Regions from separate parts of the Homo sapiens genome. Here region 2 is linked to region 1. The links are contacts of gene promoters, found by promoter capture Hi-C in human tissues and cell types (Jung and others, 2019). All regions are on one chromosome and are shown on one strand. Each heading gives the region's core, a stretch centred on a gene start or on the middle of the fragment in contact. The rest is flanking DNA. Distances are from core to core; before and after follow the strand shown. Region 1 holds the start of MTO1 (mitochondrial tRNA translation optimization 1). Region 2 has its middle 7.6 kb from the start of DPPA5.

Region 1 (7,019 bases), core at 770-3,269:
CTTCTAGGCCTTTTTAGGGTTAAGGCATACTCCCTTCTGAGAATTTCTGGTCTAACTGATTGTCTAGCTTCACATCCTGTTTCTATGGATTGTTTGTAACCAGCTTTTGCTGCAACTGTTACTGCTGATTAATATCTTGCTAATCATAGGTTATGGAAAGACTGTTTCTGTTTTAAGGCTCTGTTAGAAATTACTGATGCACACAATATATTGTAAATTCTTATCTCTGTATACTGTACTTCTGCATACAGATGTTATGTTAAAGAATTACTTCATCCCCATGTGACCATCTCACCTCATAATCAAATGACCCTAAATCCCTCACTAACCTACCCCTGCCCTCACTAAACTTAATAATAAATGCTGGTATATCCAGTGTATTAGCAGCATTGCAGGACCAGAAGGCAGTGACCCCCCTGGACCCAGCTTTCAATATCTTCTGTGTGTCTATTATTTCTCGACCTGCCAATCCGCCTGGGAACAAAGAAAGAGCCCCATTGCATTGTGGGCTGCTGGCCAGATCCTGCAATACCACACTTGTTTTATTCTCCAGTCAAACGTTGCCTTTCTGAGAAAGGCTGTGAATTGAGAAAGGCTGTGAATTCCAAAAGGCTGGACATTTAACCTCCAACCAACCGATTCTTCTAATTAACCAATTAGCCATCATGAATCTCTCTCTCTCTTTTTTTTTTTTTTGAGACAGAGTCTCACTCTTGTCGCCAGGCTGGAGTGCAGTGGCACGATCTCGGCTCACTGCAACCTCTGCCTACGGGTTCAAGCAATTCTCCTGCCTCAGCCGCCCAAGTAGCTGGGACTACAGGTGCATGCCACCACACCTGGCTAATTTTTTTTTTTGTATTTTAGTACAGACGGGGTTTCACCATGTTGCCCAGATTGGTCTCGAACTCCTGAGCTCAGGCAATCTGCCCCCTTCGGCCTTCCAAAGTGCTAGGATTACAGGCGTGATCCACCATGCCCAGGCACCATCATGAATCTTTCAGTCCACAAATATATTTGAACTCCTTTCGAATCTATTCTTTTTCTTTTCTTTTTCTTTTTTTTTTTTTGAGACGGAGTCTTGCTCTGTCGCCCAGGCTGGAGTGCAGTGGCACAATCTTGGTTCACTGCAACCTCGGCCTCCCAGGTTCAAGCGATTCTCCTGCCTCAGTCTCCTGAGTAGCTGGGATTACAGGTGCATGCCACCACTCCCGGCTAATTTTTTTTTTTTTTTTTTTTTTTTTTTTTTTTAGTAGCGATGGGGTTTCACCATGTTGACCAGGATGGTCTCCATCTCCTGACCTTGTGATCCACCTGCTTCGGCCTCCCAGAGTGCTGGGAATACAGGCGTGAGCCACCGCGCCCGGCCCGAATCTATTCTTATTTTCAGCCCTTAGTTTTTATAGACAAACAGAAGGTGACGGTGTATCAGATTGTCAGATCACAAAGATCTGATAAGGCAAAGTGATCAAATTCATTGATCGTAGGTGGCCACCTGGCGATAAGGACTGCAGGGCCTAAGAAAGTACAAAAGATGACCTTTAGTAGGAGCTCCCAACCCAGAACCACAGGAAATCAAAAAAAGCCCGCACGGGCGGATCACGAGGTCAGGAAATCGAGAACATCCTGGCTAATACGGTGAAACCCAGTCTCTACTAAAAATACAAAAAATTAGCCGGGCGTAGTGGCGGGCGCCTGTAGCCCCAGCTACTCGGAGGCTAAGGCAGGAGAATGGCGCGAACCCGGGAGGGGGAGCTTGCAGTGAGCCGAAATCGCGCCACTGCATTCCAGCCTGGGCAACAGAGCGAGACTCTGTCTCAAAATAAATAAATAAATAAATAAATAAATAAATAAATAAATAAATAAATAAATAAATAAATAAAAATAAAAAATAATAATAATAAAAAAAGCCCGCACGAACTAGGAAAGAAAATACACAACCGGCCCTCCGTGCGATCACCCATCTCCCTCACCAGGAAAGTAGCTCCAAACCGCCAATCAGCGGCGACGCTGGACGTAGACGTCCTACCCCGTGATATTAAAGCAAGATGGCCGCGCCCTGCAGATTGTCTCTTGTTGCGTAAGTTTTTTTGACCGTCACTCGTGTCAGCTTCAAAGTCAGATAGATTTTTCTCCCAGCATGTTCTACTTCCGAGGCTGTGGCCGTTGGGTCGCGGTTTCCTTCACCAAGCAGCAATTTCCGTTGGCACGGTTGAGCAGTGACAGCGCGGCGCCCCGGACTCCGCACTTCGACGTGATAGTCATTGGTGGAGGACATGCCGGGACTGAGGCAGCCACCGCCGCCGCTCGGTGCGGCTCTCGGACTCTGCTCCTCACTCACCGCGTGGACACGATCGGTGAGGAGCGCGGGTGCTGTGGAACTTGGCGTAGGACGCAGGCTGCTTCCTTCCCGCCTCCCCCGGTCTGAAGCGGGGGACCTCTTCCTTTCCTCAAAGCTAGTGAGAATCCTACCTTCTGTGGTTTTAGCCTCGATCAGTGTCTCGCAAGGATCAGGCGGGCCAGGCCAGAACTCTATATTAGTCTATTCTGCGAACCATAGATTATGCTGCTGCTGACAGTCGTCCGTTGTAGGAGGTTGGGGTTCGGGGTCAGTGCCTTGGGAAAGGGAGCTACCAACTACTCGCTGGTAGCTTCTTAGTTCATTGCTGCGTTTACCTTCTACTATGTTACTCCAGATAAAGGGTGAATTAACATTATTAACAATGGTTTATGGCCAGGTGCAGTGGCTCACTTCTTTAATCCCAGCACTTTGGGATGCCAAGGCAGGTGGATCACCTGAGGTCAGGAGTTTGAGACCAGCTTGGCCAACACGGCGAAACCCCGTCTCTACTAAAAATACAAAAATTAGCCGGGCATGGTGGCGGGCGCCTATAATCCCAGCTACTCGGGAGTCTGAGGCAGGAGAATCGCTTGAACCCGGGGGCAGAGGTTGCAGTGAGCCGAGATTGCGCCACTTCACTCCAGCCTGGGCAAAAGAGCAAAACTCCGTCTCAAAATAATGATAATATTAATAAAATAAAAAAATCCTTTATTAAACGGTTCTTGTGTTTTTATTTAAAAACATTTTTTTAGAGACAGGGTCTCGCCATGTTGCCCAGGCTGGAGTGCAGTGACTACTCATAGGCACGATCGTTGCACATTACAGGCTCCGCTTTCTGGACTCAAGAACTTTTCCTGCCTCTGCCTAACCAGTAGCTGGGATTGCAGGTGCTCAGTACTCTGCCCAGCCTGATCTTTGTGTTTCTGTCAAGATTTTGTGATGCCTTTTGGAAGAACCATGCTACCTTTTTTTTTTTTTTTTCTTTTGAGACAGAGTCTTGCACTGTCACACAGGCTCAAGTGCAGTGGCGCCATCTCGGCTCACTGCAAGCTCCGCCTTCCGGGTTAATGCCATTCTCCTGCCTCAGCCTCCCGAGTAGCTGGGATTACAGGCACCCACCACCACGCCCGGCTAATTTTTTTTTTCTTTGTATTTTTAGTAGAGTCGGGGTTTCACCATGTTAGCCAGGATGGTCTCGATCTCCTGACCTTGTGATCCGCCCGCCTCGGCCTCCCAAAATGCTGGGATTACAGGCATGAGCCACCGTGCCCAGCGCCATGCTACCTTTTGCATCCTATATTCCTTCTGGGTTGTCGTCCCTGGATTTTGTGTTTAGTACTGGACAGTACTTTTTTTGCTCTAATGGGTAATGGTTGGATGGCCGTTCTGTAGCATCATGATAGATACTAGCTAAAACATCAACTTGTAAATTATGTATACTTTTGTCTTTCCTCCTTCCTTTTGCTTAGGAGCGAGCAGTAATTAGAATATTTACTTGTTTTGTAAAAGTTGTGAATAAATCACTTATTTATTCCTGAAATTCTTCTTTAAAATAACCATTCAGCTCATAACTGTGAAGAAATATATACTATTAACTGCGGTTTTGTGGGTGGGGGAGAGGAGGCTATATGATTTCCTAAAAGATTATACTTTTCTCATCATACATTCAGGTGGGTTTTTTCTTTTCTTTTCTTTCATTTTTGAGACAGAGTTTTGCTGTTGTTGACCAGGCTAGAATGCAGTGGCGCGATCTTGGCTCACTGCAACCTCCACCTCCCGGGTTCAAGCGATTTCCTGCCTCAGCCTCCCAAGTGGCTGGGATTAGAGGAGTCTGCCACCACGCCCAGCTAATTTTTTGTATTTTTAGTAGAGATGGGGTTTCATCATGTTGGCCAGGCTGGTCTCCAACTCCTGACTTCAGGTGATCCACCCGTGTCAGCCTCCCAAAGTGCTGGGATTACAGGTGTGAGCCACCACACCTGGCCTGTTGTTTATATTTTTAAAAAATAAAGACCTAGTGCTTGCTTTGGCAACAACATAAACTAAAGTTGGAATGATATAGGGATTAGCATAGCCCCTGCACAAGGATGATGCACAAATTTGTGAAGTGTTCCATATTTTTAAAAAATAATAATAAAATAAAGACCTAGGCCAGGGGTGATTACTCACGCTTGTAATCCCAGCATTTGGGGAGCCCAGGAGTCTTCTATTTCAAAGGAAGAAGGAGGAAAATAATCTACCACAGCTGTCATTCCTGTTTTTACAGTAGAGAGACTAAGGTATGTTAGGTAACTTGCCATGATCACAGAGCTCATAAGTGGTAGGTCTAGAAATTGAGCCAGATATCTCTTTCACACACACTCCTCATAATGACACTTCATGCTCATAATCACAGTGCTATCCAGTCTCCCTGTGGAGACCATTAAAACTTGTGGAGGTCTTGTCTGGGCATGGTGGCTCATGCCTGTAATCCCAGCAGTTTGGGAGGCAAAGGCGGGCAAATCACCTGATGTCGGAAGTTCGAGACCAGCCTGACCAACATGGAGGAACCCTGTCTCTATTAAAAATAGAAAATTAAACACCCAAGAATGATCAATAAATACTAAAAAAAAAAAAAAAAAGAAAGAAAATTAGCCAGGCGTGGTGGCGTATGCCTGTAATCCCAGCTACTTGGGAGGCTGAGGCAGGAGAATCACTTGAACTCGGGAGGTGGAGGTTGCAGTGAGCTGAGATCGTGCCATTGCACTCCAGCCTGGGCAACAAGAGCGAAACTCTGTCTCAAAAAAAAAAAAAAAAAAAAAAAAAACTTTTGGAGGTCTTGATTCTTGATGTGGTGGCAGTGGATATGTGGATATTGACATAACTTGCCCATCCCTCCACCTCCCACAAAAACTTTTGAGGTAACCACATGGGTTTAGACCTCCAGGTAAGACTGGGTAAATGTAAGGGAAAGGTATAAAATATGGTCTTCACTCACAAGAAATTTGTAATTTAATTATATTTAATTCTGCAAAGTAAGTGCAAAAAGGAGATATCAGATGGCATTTATGGAAGACATAATTGGTTGTAACTGAACCAGTGCCAAGGGGCTTCTTTGTTTTTTCTTTTTTCTTTTCTTTTTTTTTTTGAGATGGAGTCACTGTTGTCACCCAGGGTGGAGTGCGATGGTGCCATCTCGGCTCACTGCAACCTCAGCCTCCCAGGGTCAAGCGATTCTTTTGCCTCAGCCTCCCAAGTAGCTGGGATTACAGGTGCAAACTGCCATGCCTGGCTATTTTTTTGTATTTTAGTAGAGACGGGGTTTCACCGTGTCGCCCAGGGTGGTCTCAAACTTCTGAGCTCCAGCAATCCACCCTCTTTGGCCTCCCAAAGTGCTAGGATTACAGGCGTGAGCCACCACACCCGGCCCTGTTTTTTATTTATTTATTTATTTTTGTCCTTATTTATGTTGAAGGACTAGGGACTTCTTACAAGTGTGCTTGATTTGGTAGATTCCTCTGGTGCTGTATCAAAAAAGAACAAATTTAAAAACCAAGTATACTTGGTTTAGAAAGGTTTCATGGGGTAAGGATTACATGTTTGAAAGGAAAAGGCAACCTAGTGAAACAGTAAAAATATGCATCAAGGAAGAGATTCAAAAGAAAGTTCAGGCCGGGCGCGGTGGCTCACGGCTGTAATCCCAGCACTCTGGGAGGCCGAGGTGGGCAGATCACCTGAGGTCAGGAGTTTGAGACCAGCCTGGTCGACATGGTGAAACCCGTCTACCAAAAATACAAAAATTAGCCAGGCGTGGTGCCGGACACCTGTAATCCCGGCTACTCGGGATGCTGAGGCAGGAGAATCGCTTGAACCCAGGAGGCAGAGGTTGCAGTGAGCCGAGATTGTACCACTGCACTCCAGCCTGGGTGACAGAGTGAGACTCCATCTTAAAAAAAACAAAAGGAAGTTCAGGAAGTGGTTTGTCATCCAGGTTGCCCTGGACACTTTTGCATCCCATTGGGTCTTTGGGATTTTCTTTGTAGTATATCTTTCACGTTTTCTATTTTTTATCATATGAGATGATTATAGTCACCTGTATAAATGTTTCCTTATTAAGTAGTCACTATGTGCAAGGTGCTCATATATTTATTTTGTTTATGTCTATTATCTTTAGGTCAGATGTCATGTAATCCTTCCTTTGGTGGCATCGGAAAGGGACATTTAATGAGGGAAGTAGATGCCTTGGATGGCCTGTGTTCTCGCATCTGTGACCAGTCTGGTGTACATTATAAAGTATTAAACCGGCGTAAGGGACCAGCTGTGTGGGGTCTGAGAGCTCAGATTGATAGGAAACTCTATAAACAGAACATGCAGGTAAGAATAGGGCATGAGCACAGGAAAGATTATAGTGATTGTTTAATTACCATGTTTCAACTGGCATTTTCTTTTGACAGAAAGAAATCTTGAATACACCACTGCTTACTGTTCAGGAGGGAGCTGTAGAAGATCTTATTCTTACAGAACCAGAGCCTGAACACACTGGGAAATGCCGTGTCAGTGGGGTTGTTTTGGGTACGTATTGGTTATAGATGGTGTATGATAACAGCATATCAAATTCCATGTGAGAAATTTATTTTAGAGCAAAGTGTGGAGATATGTTGCTTATTCAAGGAACTTGTTGCATTTTCTCTACCTGGATGAG
Region 2 (6,556 bases), core at 3,680-6,179, 110 kb before region 1:
TTTTGTACTAACTATATTTGGCACTTTTAAGCTAAAGCCCCTTAAAAATGCAAGTAGGTGGTATCTCCCTTTATATCCTGCACACAAGATTACATTTGTTAAACTGCTGTGTCAGAAAGTTCTCCACATTGAGCCAGAATCTGCATCCACAAACTTCCAAACACTAGAACTTATTTTGCCTTCTAAAATATCACAGAATAGTTCATCTTTTGTTGATGATAAAGCCTTCAAGATGTTAGACAGATGCCTTCTCTCACTGCACCCTAATCCTCCTTCATTCATCTTATGACATTATCTTAAAAAATTATGCTTACTGTTAAAGAAAATAATTCAAAATTAGTAAGCTTGCTTTTAGTTAAATAAAACAACTAATTTCCCTTCTTCAGGACATACTGAAGTTTTGCATGAAGGACATGACCCCTCAATCCTATTTACATTACCAAATGACTTGCTGGTAGATAATCATATCTGAATTCAAAAGACTAAAAAGTTTCTCTTTGGAGTAAAAATTAAAGAAACAAGAATTACCTCAAAAAGTTCCCCACACTCCTGGCCCTTCTCTCTAACCCAGAGATCTGTGAACTACATTTTTTTCTTTCACACGCAGCACCCCTAGGCCATGCAACAAGTATTTGAACAAAAAGGAACCACTTCAGAAACTAGAAATGGGACCTTCAGAACCATGTGGGCTGAGAACCAGCCCTAGCTTTAGCCCTCAGCCTCCCAAATGTTCAAACCAAAATATGATAGCCATTACAAATAAGGCTGCAAAGGACATTCTTTATAAAACAATTCCTAGAAGGTTGGTTTTTTTGGGCGTTTTGTTTTTGTCTTTGTTTTTTTTTGTTTGTTTGTTTTTTTCATTATCTCAGCTCATTGCAACCTCCCATTTCCCAGGTTCAACTGATTCTCCTGCCTCAGGCTCCCGAGTAGCTGGGACTACAGGCATACACCACCACACCTGGCTAATTTTCATATTTTTAGTAGAGATGGGGTTTTGCCATATTGGCCAGGCTGGTCTTGAACTCCAGACCTCAAGTGATCCGCTCTCCCCGGCCTCCGAAAGTGCTGAGATTACAGGCGTGAACCACGGTGCTTGGTCTCCTAGAAGTTATCTTGAATTGTAGTGTTGAGATGCAGAATATCAGGAACTTTTTCCAAATGGCATTGGTTTAAATGTCTGCCAAACTCACAGGTGAAAAAATGCATTTAATTGTGTCGGTGTACATTTCTAAGCTAGAGGCTGAATACTTTCTCTCAGAAGCATGTGGGTTATTTGCATTTCTTCATTTGCTGATTGTTCTGTTATGATATACTTACTGAGGATGAGCGCGGTGGCTCAACGCCTGTAATCCCAACATTTTGGGAGGCCAAGGTGGGCAGATTAGCTGAAGTCAGGAATTTGAGACCAGCCTGGCCAACATGGTAAAACTCTGTCTCTACTAAAAATACAAAAATTAGTTGGGTGTGGTGACATGTGCCTGTAGTCTCAGCTACTCAGGAGACTGAGGCAGGAGAATCACTTGAACCAGGAGACAGGGAGGTTGCAGTGAGCCAAGACTGAGCCACTGCACTCCAGCCTGGATGACAGAGCAAGATTCTGAAGAAAAAAAAAAAAAGAAAAAAGATATACTTCCTGAATTTTTTTGAGATGGAGTTTTGCTCTTGTTGCCCTGGCTGGAGTGCAATGGCGCTATCTCAGCTCACCGCAACCTCTGCCTCCTGGGTTCAAGCAATTCTCCTGCCTCAGCCTCCCAAGTAGCTGGGATTACAGGCATGTGCCACCATGCCCGGCTAATTTTGTATTTTTTAGTAGAGAGGGGGGTTTCTCCATGTTGGTCAGGCTGGTCTCGAACTCCTGACTTCAGGTGATCCGCCTGCCTCAGCCTCCCAAAGTGCTGGGGATTACAGACGTGAGCCACCTCGCTGGGCCTACTTACTGATTTGTGAGAATTATTTAACTACTCATGTATTAGCCACTTGCTCGTCCTTATATTGCTGATTTGCCCCTCACCCCACCTCATTTTGACTTTTTTAAAAGAATAGAGGCCAGGCACGGTGGCTTACACCTATAATCTCAGCACTTTGAGAGGCTAAGGTAGGCAGATTGCCGGAGGTCAGGAGTTCGAGACCAACCTGGCCAACATGGTGAAACCCCACCTCTACTAAAAATACAAAAATTAGCTGGGCGTGATGACACACACCTGTAATCCCAGCTACTCAGGAGGCTGAGGCAGGAGAATCGCTTGAACTGGGAGGTGGAGGTTGCTGTGAGCTGAGATTGTGCCACTGCCCTCCAGCCTGGGCAGCAGAGTGAGACTCCATCTCAAAAACATTAAAAATATAAAAAAAGAATGGGACTTTCCAATTTTTTTAGCTCCCTGATCTAGTATTATTTTGATTTATGATTTCTGCCTTTGATGTTGGGTTTACAGAAGCCTGATTATATAATTTATTATTTAAATATTTTTTTCTACCAGGTTTTTTTTTTTTTTTTTGAGACAGAGTCTTGCATTGTCATCCAGGCTGGAGTGCAGTGGCGCCATCTCAGCTCACTGCAAGCTCCGCCTCCCGGGTTCATGCCATTCTCCTGCCTCAGCCTCCCGAGTAGCTGGGACTACAGGTGCCCGCCACCACGCCAGGCTAGTTTTTTGTATTTTTAGTAGAGAAGGGCTTTCACCGTGTTAGCCAGGATGGTCTCGATCTCCTGACCTTGTGATCTGCCTGCCTCGACCTCCCAAAGTGGTGGGATTACAGGCGTGAGCCACTGCGCCCAGCCTTTTCTACCAGTTCTTACATTTACATTTTTAATTTATTTTTTAATTTATTTTTTAGAGACAGGCTCTTGCTCCATCACCCAGGCTGGAGTGCAGTGGTACAATCAGAGCTGACTGCCAGCTTCCAACTCCCGGGCTCAAGCAATCCTCCCACCTATCTCAGCTTTCCTGAGCAGCTGGTACTACAGGCATGTTCCACCACACCCAGCTAATTTCTTAATTTTTGTAGAGATCGCGTCTTGCTATGCTGCCCAGGCTGGTCTAGAACTCGTGGCCTCAAGCAATCCTTCCACCTTGGCCTCCCAAAGTGCTGAGATTACAGATGTGAGCCACAATTTTATTTTTAGTTTACAACAGGAACCTGGGGGTAGGGGGGTAAATCAAATAATCCTAAGTAATCATTAATCTTGGAAAATCAAGTTATAGGGCTTGAGTGAGAAGTGCCATCCTAACCAACCAACATCTTCTCATCACCCAGATGTCAGTAGGCTCTGCCAGCCTACCCCACCCACAAAATCACCATCCTGAACATGGGATAGCCCCTGACCCCAGCACTTGATTATCTGTATTCTTTAAAAGACAGATGGGTCTGGGACTCTTCTCATCAAAATTTACTAAAGCTTCAAAAAGAGATAAATTGTCTATCTGTTCCTCTTTTTAGTTCTTTTCCCTCCCACAGACCCCAAGCCCTATTTTCTTTTGCCCTAATACTCCTGTTTCTTTTGCCCTACTTGTCCCCATTAAATTCCCATGCCTGTGAAAGAAGTTTAGGCTAGGAGCCCTATGTTGCACATTTTCTTCTCCTTTTATAGTGGTACAATGAAATATTACAGTCATCTCTCCCTATCTGAGAGATTTGTTTCAGCACCCCCTCTCCCATACCAAAATCCACAGATGTTCAAGTTCTTAATGTAAAATGACATGTTTACATATAACCTATAAACATCCTCCCCTATACTTTTTAATAATCTCTAGATTACTAACAATACAAATGCTATGTAAATAGTTACATTGTATTGGGGTTTATTTGTATCTTTACTGTTGCATTGTTATTGTTTTCTTTCTGAATATTTTTGATGGGAGGTTGGTTGAATCCGTGGTTGCAGAACAGCGGATACAAAGGTTTGATCGTAGTTAATTTGGCTCTTTTGTTTTGTTTTACAGTACTGCTCCTTGCAGAACAGGGCTAACTCATGGGCAGTGATCCCAGGGTCAGCTAATTTGGCATTTTCATGAGGGTAAATCTTATCTATCCCCAATGCAACAATATTTAGACTGTTGAAGCTAGAAGGAAAAGAGGAATCCCATGAAACTAAGACCAGCTTTTGAGAATTGGAGTGAAGTTTGGAAAACCTGGTCCTTCCCTTTCTGCAGCAGAGATTGCAAAATGGCTACAAGACTTGGTGCAGCAGCCCCTCTCTGGACAAATTCCAACGCTGGAATTCTAGTGCCATACAGATAACTCCTCGAAAAAAATATTTCTGCCTCTGATTAGTTACCATACAATTTAATATTCCAAATTTCTTTCATGTAAGTAACACCCCAGACACTTGTTTTCTGAAAATAGTCTCTGAAATCCTGAAAATGTTCGTGGGCCACATTGTCATTTTTGTTTTCTTCCTAAAACACCACTCCTGAGTATGTAGCAAAGCAGACACTCAACAAATATATATTTAAATTTTTTCTTTTTTTTTTTTTTTTTTTTTTTGAGGAGTCTAGCTGTGTCGCCCATGCTAGAGCACAGTGGCGCAATCTTGGCTTACCACAACCTCTGCCTCCTAGGTTCAAGCAATTCTCCTGCCTCAGCCTCCCGAGTAGCTGGGATTACAGGCGCCCTCCACCACACCCAGCTTTTTTCTATTTTTAGTAGAGACGGGGTTTCACTATGTTGGTTAGGCTGGTCTCGAACTCCTGACCTCGTGATCCGCCCACCTCAGCCTCCCAAAGTGCTGGAATTACAGACGTGAGCCACCGCGCCCGACCTTCAACAAATATTTCAATAATGCCATTCAACAAATGAGTCGATGGGAACAGTGGAGAGACAGGGCAGAGCCATTAGAGAAGAATCAGAATCCAAACTGATCCTAGGATCCTAGCTGCCAGGGACAGGGAAACAGCTTATCTGAGTGGTTCCGGGTGGTTCCATAGTCACCTCCTGCTCAAAACCTTTGGATGGGTTACCTTTGCTCTCTGCAAGGTCTGCGAGGCCCCGGGGGGAACTGCCTCGCTCCCGTTCCGGCCATGCCCCAGCCGGCTCAACCTTCTGGCCTAGCCACCATCCTGTTCCCAGGGCTGCACTTCCCTTCCTCCTCGCCTGGCTCACTGCTGCCGGTCACTCAGATCTCACCCAAGGTGACTTCCTTGGGGGACCGTCCCTGACCTCCCTGCCCAGGTCTAGTCTCCAACATTTCAGCCTCCCAGCACAGCACCGGTGTTCATTTCTCGGATTCTTACATCCATGTGGCTCCTAACCAGACCGGAAGCTCCCGGAGGGCCCGCCTGTCTACAGAGGTTGGGAGACTTGCTCCAGACCACCCTGCAGGTGGCTTCAGTCCCAGGAGACCTAACAGCGCCTGCCTCGGAGCCCACTTGGGAATGAGTTGGGCATAGGTGACCCCGCGGGGCCCTGCGAGGAACACCCACACCCACTCTGGCTTCCCCTCTCCCGCTCTATCAGCCCACCCAAAGGGTAAAAAGTCTCATAGGGCCCGGAAGGGCGCGGTGGCTCACGCCTGTAGTCCCAGCATTCTGGGAGGCCGAGGCGGGCGGATCACCTGAGGTTAGGAGTTGGAGACCATCCTAGCCAACATGGCAAAACCCGGTCTCTACTCAAAATACAAAAATTAGCCGGGCACGCCGGCGCGCGCCTGTAATCCCAGCTACCTGGGAGGCTGCGCAAGAGAATCGCTTGAACCCGGGTGTTGGAGGTTGCAGTGAGCCGAGATCGTGCCACTGCACTACAGCCTGGCAACAGAGTGAGACTCCGTCGCAAAAAATAAATTAAAAATAAAAACATTTCATAGGGCCCCCAAAGAAATCACGTATACATTTAAATGTAAGACATAAATACCGGGAGGTGGTGTGATTGGTGGGATCTCAATTTCCTTAAATGGACAATGAGAATATTTTGAGAATTCAGTTAATAAAAGAGCCCAGCTTCTAGCCCCGCGGAGCTAGAAGCTCTCAATCAGCGTTAGCTATTGTTATTATTATTAGCCACTTTAGGGTTGGAGGATTACACTTGATTGGGTGTTTATCGCTTGTTATTTAAAGGCTTTCTTGGACTAAGCACTTGTTTTATCTCCTCTCCAAAACTCTTCCATCCCATTGTCAGACCCTCCTTAGGGCAGACCCCTCTCATCTGCATTACAAGAAAGCTTGAGGTTTCCTGTAATTGTCGCACTTAACCTTGGTGGAAAGCTGATCACCAGCTGCAAACTCAAAGAAAGAAATCCGCTCCAAGGCAAACCACCTTCAGACTTTTACTTCCAAAATTTTACCTATGAATTTTCTTAAAGTATTTTATTGCTGTTATTTTTGGTTTGGGGGATTGGGAAAGGGGAGCTGAAAAATTTTCAGTCCAGGACTTGCATGGAATTTATGGCAGATTCTTAAATTTCCCTCTTTTGCTACCATAATTGATACCTACTCAAAGTTTTCTGCATTTAGAAACTCTGCCTTTAAGAGGGAACTCTAGGCCAGGCACGGTGTCTCATACCTGTACGCTCAGAGCTTTGGGAAGCCAAAGCAGGTGGATCGCTTAAGATATTGAGTTCAAT

What was found. Contacts are between HindIII fragments. The study calls those that stand out against the background at their distance.
Region 2: a contact is called between a fragment that was not itself captured here and the fragment with the promoter of MTO1 in region 1, in 2 of the 25 tissues and cell types used here (H1 embryonic stem cells and liver).

What each region holds. Positions count from the first base shown.
Region 1 is chr6:73,459,718-73,466,736 of GRCh38, forward strand. MTO1 (mitochondrial tRNA translation optimization 1) reads left to right here and starts at 2,020. Exons shown (of 12, transcript NM_012123.4): 1 at 2,020-2,354; 2 at 6,492-6,691; 3 at 6,772-6,889. The coding sequence starts at 2,138. It also overlaps the pseudogene RNU6-975P. RefSeq lists a silencer at 1,521-1,580 and enhancers at 2,013-2,858, 2,031-2,360, 2,431-2,490, 2,511-2,560. The HindIII fragment of the contact is 26,494 bases long and covers 1-7,019 here.
Region 2 is chr6:73,343,420-73,349,975 of GRCh38, forward strand. No RefSeq gene overlaps it. Among named protein-coding and RNA genes, the nearest start is that of DPPA5, 7.6 kb to the right of the region's middle. RefSeq lists a silencer at 1,473-1,673 and enhancers at 4,562-5,066, 5,067-5,570, 5,571-6,075, 6,076-6,556. The HindIII fragment of the contact is 6,119 bases long and covers 1,871-6,556 here.